Regions from separate parts of the Homo sapiens genome. Here region 1 is linked to region 2. Evidence: promoter capture Hi-C in 16 types of primary human blood cells and fetal thymus (Javierre and others, 2016). All regions are on one chromosome and are shown on one strand. Each heading gives the region's core, a stretch centred on a gene start or on the middle of the fragment in contact. The rest is flanking DNA. Distances are from core to core; before and after follow the strand shown.

The links. Contacts are between HindIII fragments. The CHiCAGO score rates a contact against its expected background, and 5 or more counts as called.
Region 1: a contact is called between the fragment with the promoter of LRRC23 here and the fragment with the promoter of ACRBP in region 2, in 14 of 17 cell types (activated CD4 T cells, non-activated CD4 T cells, monocytes and 11 more). The highest score is 13.7, in activated CD4 T cells.

The regions. Positions count from the first base shown.
Region 1 is chr12:6,902,208-6,906,071 of GRCh38, forward strand. LRRC23 (leucine rich repeat containing 23) reads left to right here and starts at 2,615. Exons shown (of 8, transcript NM_001135217.2): 1 at 2,615-2,868; 2 at 3,378-3,552; 3 at 3,638-3,747. The coding sequence starts at 3,427. The HindIII fragment of the contact is 20,869 bases long and covers 1-3,864 here.
Region 2 is chr12:6,646,121-6,649,863 of GRCh38, forward strand. ACRBP (acrosin binding protein) reads right to left here and starts at 1,312. Exons shown (of 10, transcript NM_032489.3): 1 at 1,204-1,312; 2 at 674-892; 3 at 363-457. The coding sequence starts at 1,246. RefSeq lists enhancers at 733-1,246, 1,170-1,239. The HindIII fragment of the contact is 16,958 bases long and covers 1-3,743 here.

The DNA.
Region 1 (3,864 bases), core at 1,365-3,864, 260 kb after region 2:
GCTCACTGCAACCTAGGCCTCCTGTATTAAAGCGATTCTGCTGTCTCAGCCTCCCGAGTAGCTGGGATTACAGGTGCGAGCCACCACCCCAGCTAATTTTTTGTATGTAGAGACGGGGTTTCACCATATTGGCCAGACTGGTCTCAAACTCCTGACCTCAGGTGATCCACCCGCCTAGGCCTCCCAAAATGCTGGGATTACAGGCGTGAGCCACCACGCCCAGCCTAAATATTACTTTTATAATTGAAAGAGACTCTATCTAGACCAGCCGATGGGGGAAAAATATCAAGGATGTTGTGGAGTATCTAGCTCTCATTACACAGTGTAACTTCAGTCCTTGCCAACTAAACACGAAATAAAACCTTCAATAGCTCCCCACAGCTTTCAGGATAAAGTCCAGATCCTTCAGTGTGATCCAAGTCTGTTTACTGCTTCTACCATATTCCAACCCCCGACTGCACCTACTGTTCCAGCCAGCAGAACCACCTGCTTTCTTTGCACAGGCATTGAGCTCTTTCTTCTCCAAGCATTACCACAGGTGATTCCTGCCTCTGAAATCTCTGCCCCGAATATATGATATCATGTATATGCATATACTATACAATGATCCCTAGCACTTAGTAAAAGCTCTATAAATGTTGGGTATGATTATTATAACATGTCTCATTATATTGAATTACTTGTGTACTTAATCTTGTCACTGAACTGTACACCTCTTGAAGATAAAAGATAAGGACTTCTGTGCTTTACTGTCCCGGAGCACAGGGACAGATTAAGTGCTTAACAAAAGCATGGCAGGGCGCAGTGGCTCATGCCTATAATCCCAGCACTTTGGAAGGCCGAGGCGGGCGGATTGCTTGAGCCCAGGAGTTTGAGACTAGCCTGGGCAACATAGCAAAACCTTGTCTCTACAAAAAATACAAAAAAATTAACTTGGCATGGTGGCGCACACCTGTAGTCCCAGGTACCCAGGAGGCTGAGACGGAAGGACTGCTTGAGCCCAGGAGGTGGACGTTGCAGTGAGCTATGATTGCTCCACCGCACTCCATCCTGGGCGACAGAGGGAAACTCTATTTCAAAACAAAAATAAAAACAAAATAACAAAAGTGTATGTTCAAGGACACCTTCCTAACCCTTACATCACAACTTTTCTTCCCATCTAATGTGTCTTCCTCTTTCTTCTTGGCCAAGGAAACTCATATCCATTTCTTTTGACTACATCAAACCACATGGATTTTTCCCTTCTCCACACTCCAACAATACAATAACTTTCATTTGTATAGCACATCTCACTCTTCAGAGTGTTCATATTTATTATTTCTTTTTCCTCACAGCAACCCCAGTACCAAGGACACAGGCCAGGGGTGGGGAGGAGCAGGAAAATGTTTACTAAGGGTCAACTAAGTGCAAGGCGATTTACCCACATTATCTCTTTTAATCCCTTAACAATCCTTACAGGTGGACGTTTTAATAATCCCCATTTCACGACTGTGGAAATTAGACCTCAGTAAGATTTCATAACCTGCTGAAGGACACACAGGTATTAAGTAGTAGAGATGGGTTTTGAAGCTGGTGTCTCTGACTTTAAAGTCCCTACTGGTTCCATGACACCAAGTAAACAGATTTGCCTATTAACCACATTCCTCCAAGCTGCCCTGGGCAGGAGGTAATATAATACTTCCTGATTTCTTGCCCACCACATCTTCCACCAGACCACTTTGCCGTTATATAAAGTCTGTGGGCACAATTTAACAATGAATCACATGCCATCTTACCTGGTTACCTCATTGTTTCATTTACATTAGATTCCACAACAAGATTGGTAACATCCCCCTTTCCCCAGGCAGGAATTGTGTCATCTTAACCTCCCTGAGCCTCAGTATCCTCTTCTTTCAAATGTCTATCTTACAGGACTGTTGCAGAGATTAAATATCAGTTGTAAAGATGTTTGACATAATGTCTCGCACAAACTCTCCAGAAATATTTATTGCATCTCAACATCTTTTTCATCTCCTTCAACATGTCAGACAGGCCTGAGTGCCTGGGTTTGGCTATGCCAGTTCCTGTTGATTACTGATATAACAACGTTGGATCAGGAGTATTTTAGTGGGCAGATGTTGAATTTTCTGCCTTCCACCCACTAAAAGGTTTGCATCAAACCAGTCCAGGATAACTCATACTGGATCCCTGTCAGTTGATATAGTTAAGCTAATTCTACAGATAACAAAGAGTCTTGGGTACGTTTAGCTAGCAAATGCAGATCTGCCAAGACTCCAACCCAGTTCTTAAGGTATCTGGGTCTGGACTCCTTCCGCTCCACCAAGCCACCTTCCAAAGGTCTACCTGAAAATAACTAATGAGCAGAAACTATAGGGGGAAGGGGAAAAGACCCCTTATCTTGGTGTTTCTTGCTTTTCCTCGCAGCCCCGCCCTTTTTGCTTCGAAGGACGAGTTTTTCCTGAATTCACAATACTTTTGCATTGAAGATGTCCGGTCCCTTTAAGGTCTTGGGTGACGTAATGACTAGCCCCGCCCCCTCTCTTCTCGCTTCTCAGCCCTGCCCACTTCTTTTTGTCCTCAGCCAATTAGCGGCCCAACGCCCCTTCCGCGCCTCATCCGGGTTCCCGGGACGGGAAAGTGGCGTGGTAACCAGGCAACTACTGATCAATCCCCTCCCCGGCTGATTTGCGCATCAGGTAGTCGCCGCTCTACTCTCAACGGTGGCGAGCTGCAGTTGCCAAGTGCCCCGTCCCCGTTGCCATAACAGCAGTACACAACCCCTCCTTCCCCTCGCCCGCTTGCTAAACAGTCCTTCCCTCTCGGGACCAAGGGCCTCTCCAGAACTGCTTCTGATTGAGCAGAAACAGGGTCTGAGCCCCTTTGCTAAGGCGAATTGAGTGGGAGGGTTGGAGACTGCGCTTTAGGCTGGTGTACCAGAGGGCCCAAGGAAATTGGCCCAGTGGGGAGGGAAAAGTAGAAGAAATGAATGGAGCAGGGATTACGGATGGCGCAATGGGAGCTGAGAGGAGAGGAGGAGGAATTGGTAGGGAAGATTGGAGAGCATGGCTTAAGGGGGAGGTGGGAAGAATGGGGGAGAGGGAAGCCCAGGAAATAGGGACACCCGGCTGCTGGAGGAGAGCTGGAGTCACTGTGAAGGACAGGAAAGGCCTGGGGGTGTGGGTGACATCCTGAAGGGAGGGGGTCCTCAGTGGAAAGTGTGAAGTGGGAGTTGAGAATCAAAATGAGATGTTCACAGGGATAAGGAAAGAAGCCTAGAGTTGGTGGGTCAGAAGTCATGGGGGTGATGGGAGTGGCACGTGTCAATGACGATGAAGGAGCTGAAGGCTGGCAGAAGCTGATGAGACCTTCTTTTTCAGGAGGAGGACTGAGCTTATCTGACTCCAGAGCTTTCAGGAGGGAAGAAAGATGTCAGATGAAGATGATCTAGAAGACTCTGAGCCAGACCAGGATGATTCTGAGAAAGAAGAGGACGAGAAGGAGACAGAGGAGGGGGAGGACTACAGAAAAGAGGGGGAAGAGTTCCCTGAGGAAGTGAGAGCCTGGACAAGGAGGGGTCCTAGGGCTGAAGGAGGGGGTTGGGCAGGGGAGAGACACCTTACTCCACTTCTACCTGCAGTGGCTGCCCACCCCCCTCACGGAGGACATGATGAAGGAAGGGCTTTCTCTGCTCTGTAAGACAGGCAATGGGCTGGCTCATGCTTATGTCAAGCTGGAGGTTAAAGAGAGGTGCGTTTTGGGGGGACCAGATGAGGACTGTGAGACTGTAGGGCCCCTATCTCCTTTCCCACTGTCATTCCTGGGTGTTCTGGTTGAGAGTTTGACTCTTCTCATGCCTAGTGGAAA
Region 2 (3,743 bases), core at 62-2,561:
GGCTATTTTTTTTTTTTTTTTTTGTATTTTTAGTAGAAACGGGGTTTCACCATGTTGGCCAGGCTGGTCTCGAACTCCTGACTTCAGGTGATCTGCCCATCTCGGGCTCCCAAAGTGCTGAGATTACAGGCATGAGCCACCATGCCCAGTCTCTTCTCTACTTTTCTTGCAGTAACAGAATTGTTCAATCTGAATATCCAAGGTGAGACTGTATTCATATATAATCTGGGTAAATGACTGGCAAAATGGCAGGGAAGGAGGAGCTAAGGATGACTCTCCTGGAACCCTTCCTCAACTCCCCACTGCTGCCGCCTCTCCCTTGGCCCTGGGGCACCAAATCCAACCTTTGTCCTGGGCCTCACCTTGGCATAGTAGACGTGGTTGGAGCAACGGTAGTGAGTGAACTGGCAGAAAGACTCAAACCAGGAGGCATAAGGGAGGTTGGAGCAGACAGCACCTGAGAAAGGGCAGGGGTGGAGAAGATGAACCCGTGGGGAGCTTGGGGTGGGGCTGTGGGCAATGGACTCCACGCCATGGGGAGGGTGGAGAGTACGAGCTCATGGTGTGGTGCCAGCCATGCCCTTCCCCGCCTCACATGAGCACAGGGGTTTTTGCCCTGAGGTTTGGGTGAACACTCTGGGTGCCTCGGTTTCCCCCCTAGTCTGGCCCTCACCATCGGGCACTAAGCCGTGGTTTTCATATTGGTCCAGCTGGACGAGTGTGGGATTCCGGCAGCCGTGGGTTGCACGGAGACGGCAGGTAGTCTCTGCCTTCCAGGTTGGAGTCAGCAGTGCGAAGAAGCGTTCGTATTCGGTAGGAGAGAGAGGGCTGCCTGGAGTGGAGGCCTGAGTCGAATCCTGGGCTGCGGCAGGTGCCAGAGGCAGGAGCAGCACTGCGGAGCGGGCGAACGGATGATGGAAGGACCGAACCCCAAAACCCGCTCCGAGACCAGGACAGACAGACCCAGACTGGCAAATTAGGAACGGGGTGAGGGTTATCCCTGCTGACCAGGGCGGGGGGAGTCTAGAGACAGAGGCAAAGGTCCGGCCGCGGGCGGGGGGAGATGGGAGTATCCCAGGACCTAGGGAGCCGACCCAGCGCGACCACCATGAGGAAGCGATCCAGAAACCGTAAAAGCAGAGCTCTCGGGAGGGAGAGGACTAGCCCGGGGAGAGTCTGTTGGAGCAGGTGTAAACCTCTCACCCTTCAGGAGTGAGGGAAGGAAGCCAGCGGCTGGCTTCCTCATGGCCGGAGAAGATCCGCCCGCGTCCCGTGGACACAAGCCGCCTCTAACGGGCCAAGCCGCAGAGAGAGCCGCAGGCGCGGGGCGGGGCGCACGCGGGCACCGCCCACGCGTCACAAAGAGCGGGCCGGGGCGGGGCCTCGACAGCCGGGCTCTCAGGGCCCTAAAGTGGCCAGAGCCCATCCAGATGGTAGGAATGGCAAACAGCTACCTTCACTTAGCGTCTTTTTCTTTTTTTTTTGAGACGGAGTCCTACTCTGTCGCCCAGGCTGGAGTGCAGTGGTGCGATCTCGGCTCACTACAACCTCGGCGTCCCAGGTTCAAGTGATTCTCCTGCCTCAGCCTCCCGAGTAGCTGGGACTATAGGTGCACGCCACCACGCCCAGCTAATTTTTGTATTTTTAGTAGAGATGGTATTTCACCATGCTGGCCAGATGGTCTCGATCTCTTGACCTTGTGATCCGCCCACCTCGGCCTCCCAAAGTGCTGGGATTACAGGCGTGAGCCACCATGCCCGGCCTAATTTTTGTATTTTTAGTAGAGACTGGGTTTCACCATGTTGGCCAGGCTGGTCTTGAACTCCTGACTTCAAATGATCTGCCCACCTCGGCCTCCCAAAGTGCTGGGATTACAGGTGTGAGCCACCGTAGCCAGCCACTTAGCATCTTTACATGCACTACCTTACGTAATTGCCATAGGAATCCCATAAGGTAGATACACTATCATTCGTTTTACAGATGAGAAATCGGGGCTTAGGGAAGCAACTCGCCCAACAAACAGGTCGTGAGGTCTAGAGCTAAGCGCAGGCAGAGATAGAATGTGCAAAACCAAGTCAAGGCCTATCTGGGTAGGAACTAGACAGGGCGCCTCCATGAGCAAAATGGGTCCAAGGGGAAAACAAGAGGGTGGCTCAGTGGTCTACGAAAGTGGTTTCCAAGGGAGAATCGAGTAAGACAGTCCACTGAGGTATGGGAGGAGAACTTTTGCTTTTGTATCTGTTTTGTGTTTAAAATGAGAAATTCCAGCCTGGGCAACAGGGCGAAACCTCGTCTCTACAAAAAGTACAAAAAATTAGCCAAGCGTGGTGGCACGTGCCTGTAGTCCCAGTTTCTTGGGGGGCTGAGATGGGAGGATCGCTTGAGCCCATGAGGCCAAGGCTGCAGTGAGGTGCAATCGGGCCACTGCTCTCCAGCCTGGGTGACAAAGTGAGACCCTGTCCCCACCCAAAAGCAAAAGTAAAAAAGAAAAATAAAACAAGAAATTGTCTTGGGCCAGACTTGGTGGCTCACGCCTGTAATCCCAGCATTTGGGAAGTCAAGGCGGGTGGATTCCTTGAGCCCAGGAGTTCCAGACCAGCCTGGGCAACATGGCGAAACCCTGTCTCTACAAAAAATACAAAAATTGTCAGGTGTGGTGGTGTGCGCCTGTTGTCCCACTTACTACTTGGGGAGGCTGAGGTAGGAGGATCACCTGAGTCTTCAGAGGTCAAGGCTGCAGTGAGCTGAGATCTCACCACTGTGCTCCAGCCTGGGTGACAAAGTGAGACCCTGTCTCAAAAATAAAATAAAATAAAATAAATTAATAAAATAGAGACCAGGCACTGTGGCTCATTCCTGGAATTCCAGCACTTTGGGAGGCCAAGGAGGGTGGATCTCTTGAGGCCAGGAGTTTGAGACCAGCCTGGCCAAAATGGTGAAACTTGGCCGGTGCGATGGCTCATGCCTGTAATCCTAGCACTTTGGGAGACCAAGGCAGGCAGATCACGAGGTCAGGAGATCAAGACCATCCTAGCTAACACGGTGAAACCCTGTCTCTACTAAAAATACAAAAAATTAGCCAGGCGTGGTGGCATGTGCCTGTAGTCCCAGCTACTCGGGAGGCTGAGGCAGGAGAATTGCTTGAACTCGGGAGATGGAGGTTGCAGTGAGCCGAAATCACGCCACTGCACTCCAGCCTGCATGACAGAGTGAGACTCCATCTCAAAAAAAAAAAAAGGGTGAAACCCAGTCTCTACTAAAAATACAAAAATTATGGCTGGTCTCAGCACAGTGCAATCTCTGCCTCCTGGGTTCAAGTGATTCTCCTGCCTCAACCTCCCAAGTAGCTAGGATTATAGGCACATGCCACCACATCTGGCTAATTTTTGTATTTTTAGTAGAGATGGGGTTTTAACATGTTGGCCAGACTGGCCTCGAACTCCGGACCTCAGGTGATCCACCCACCTCAACCTCCCAGAGTGCTGGGATTACAGGTGTGAGCCACCGCACCCAGCCTATTTATTTTTTTGAGACGGAGTCTCACTCTATCGCCCAGGCTGGAGTGCAGTGGTACAATCTCAGCTCACTGCAACCTCTGCCTCCCAGGTTCAAGCGATTCTCCTGCCTCACCCTCTCGAGTAGCTGGGATTACAGGCACCCATGACCACGCCCAGCTAATTTTTGTATTTTTGGCCGAGACCGGGTTTCGCCATGTTGGCCAGGCTAGTCTTGAACTCCTGACC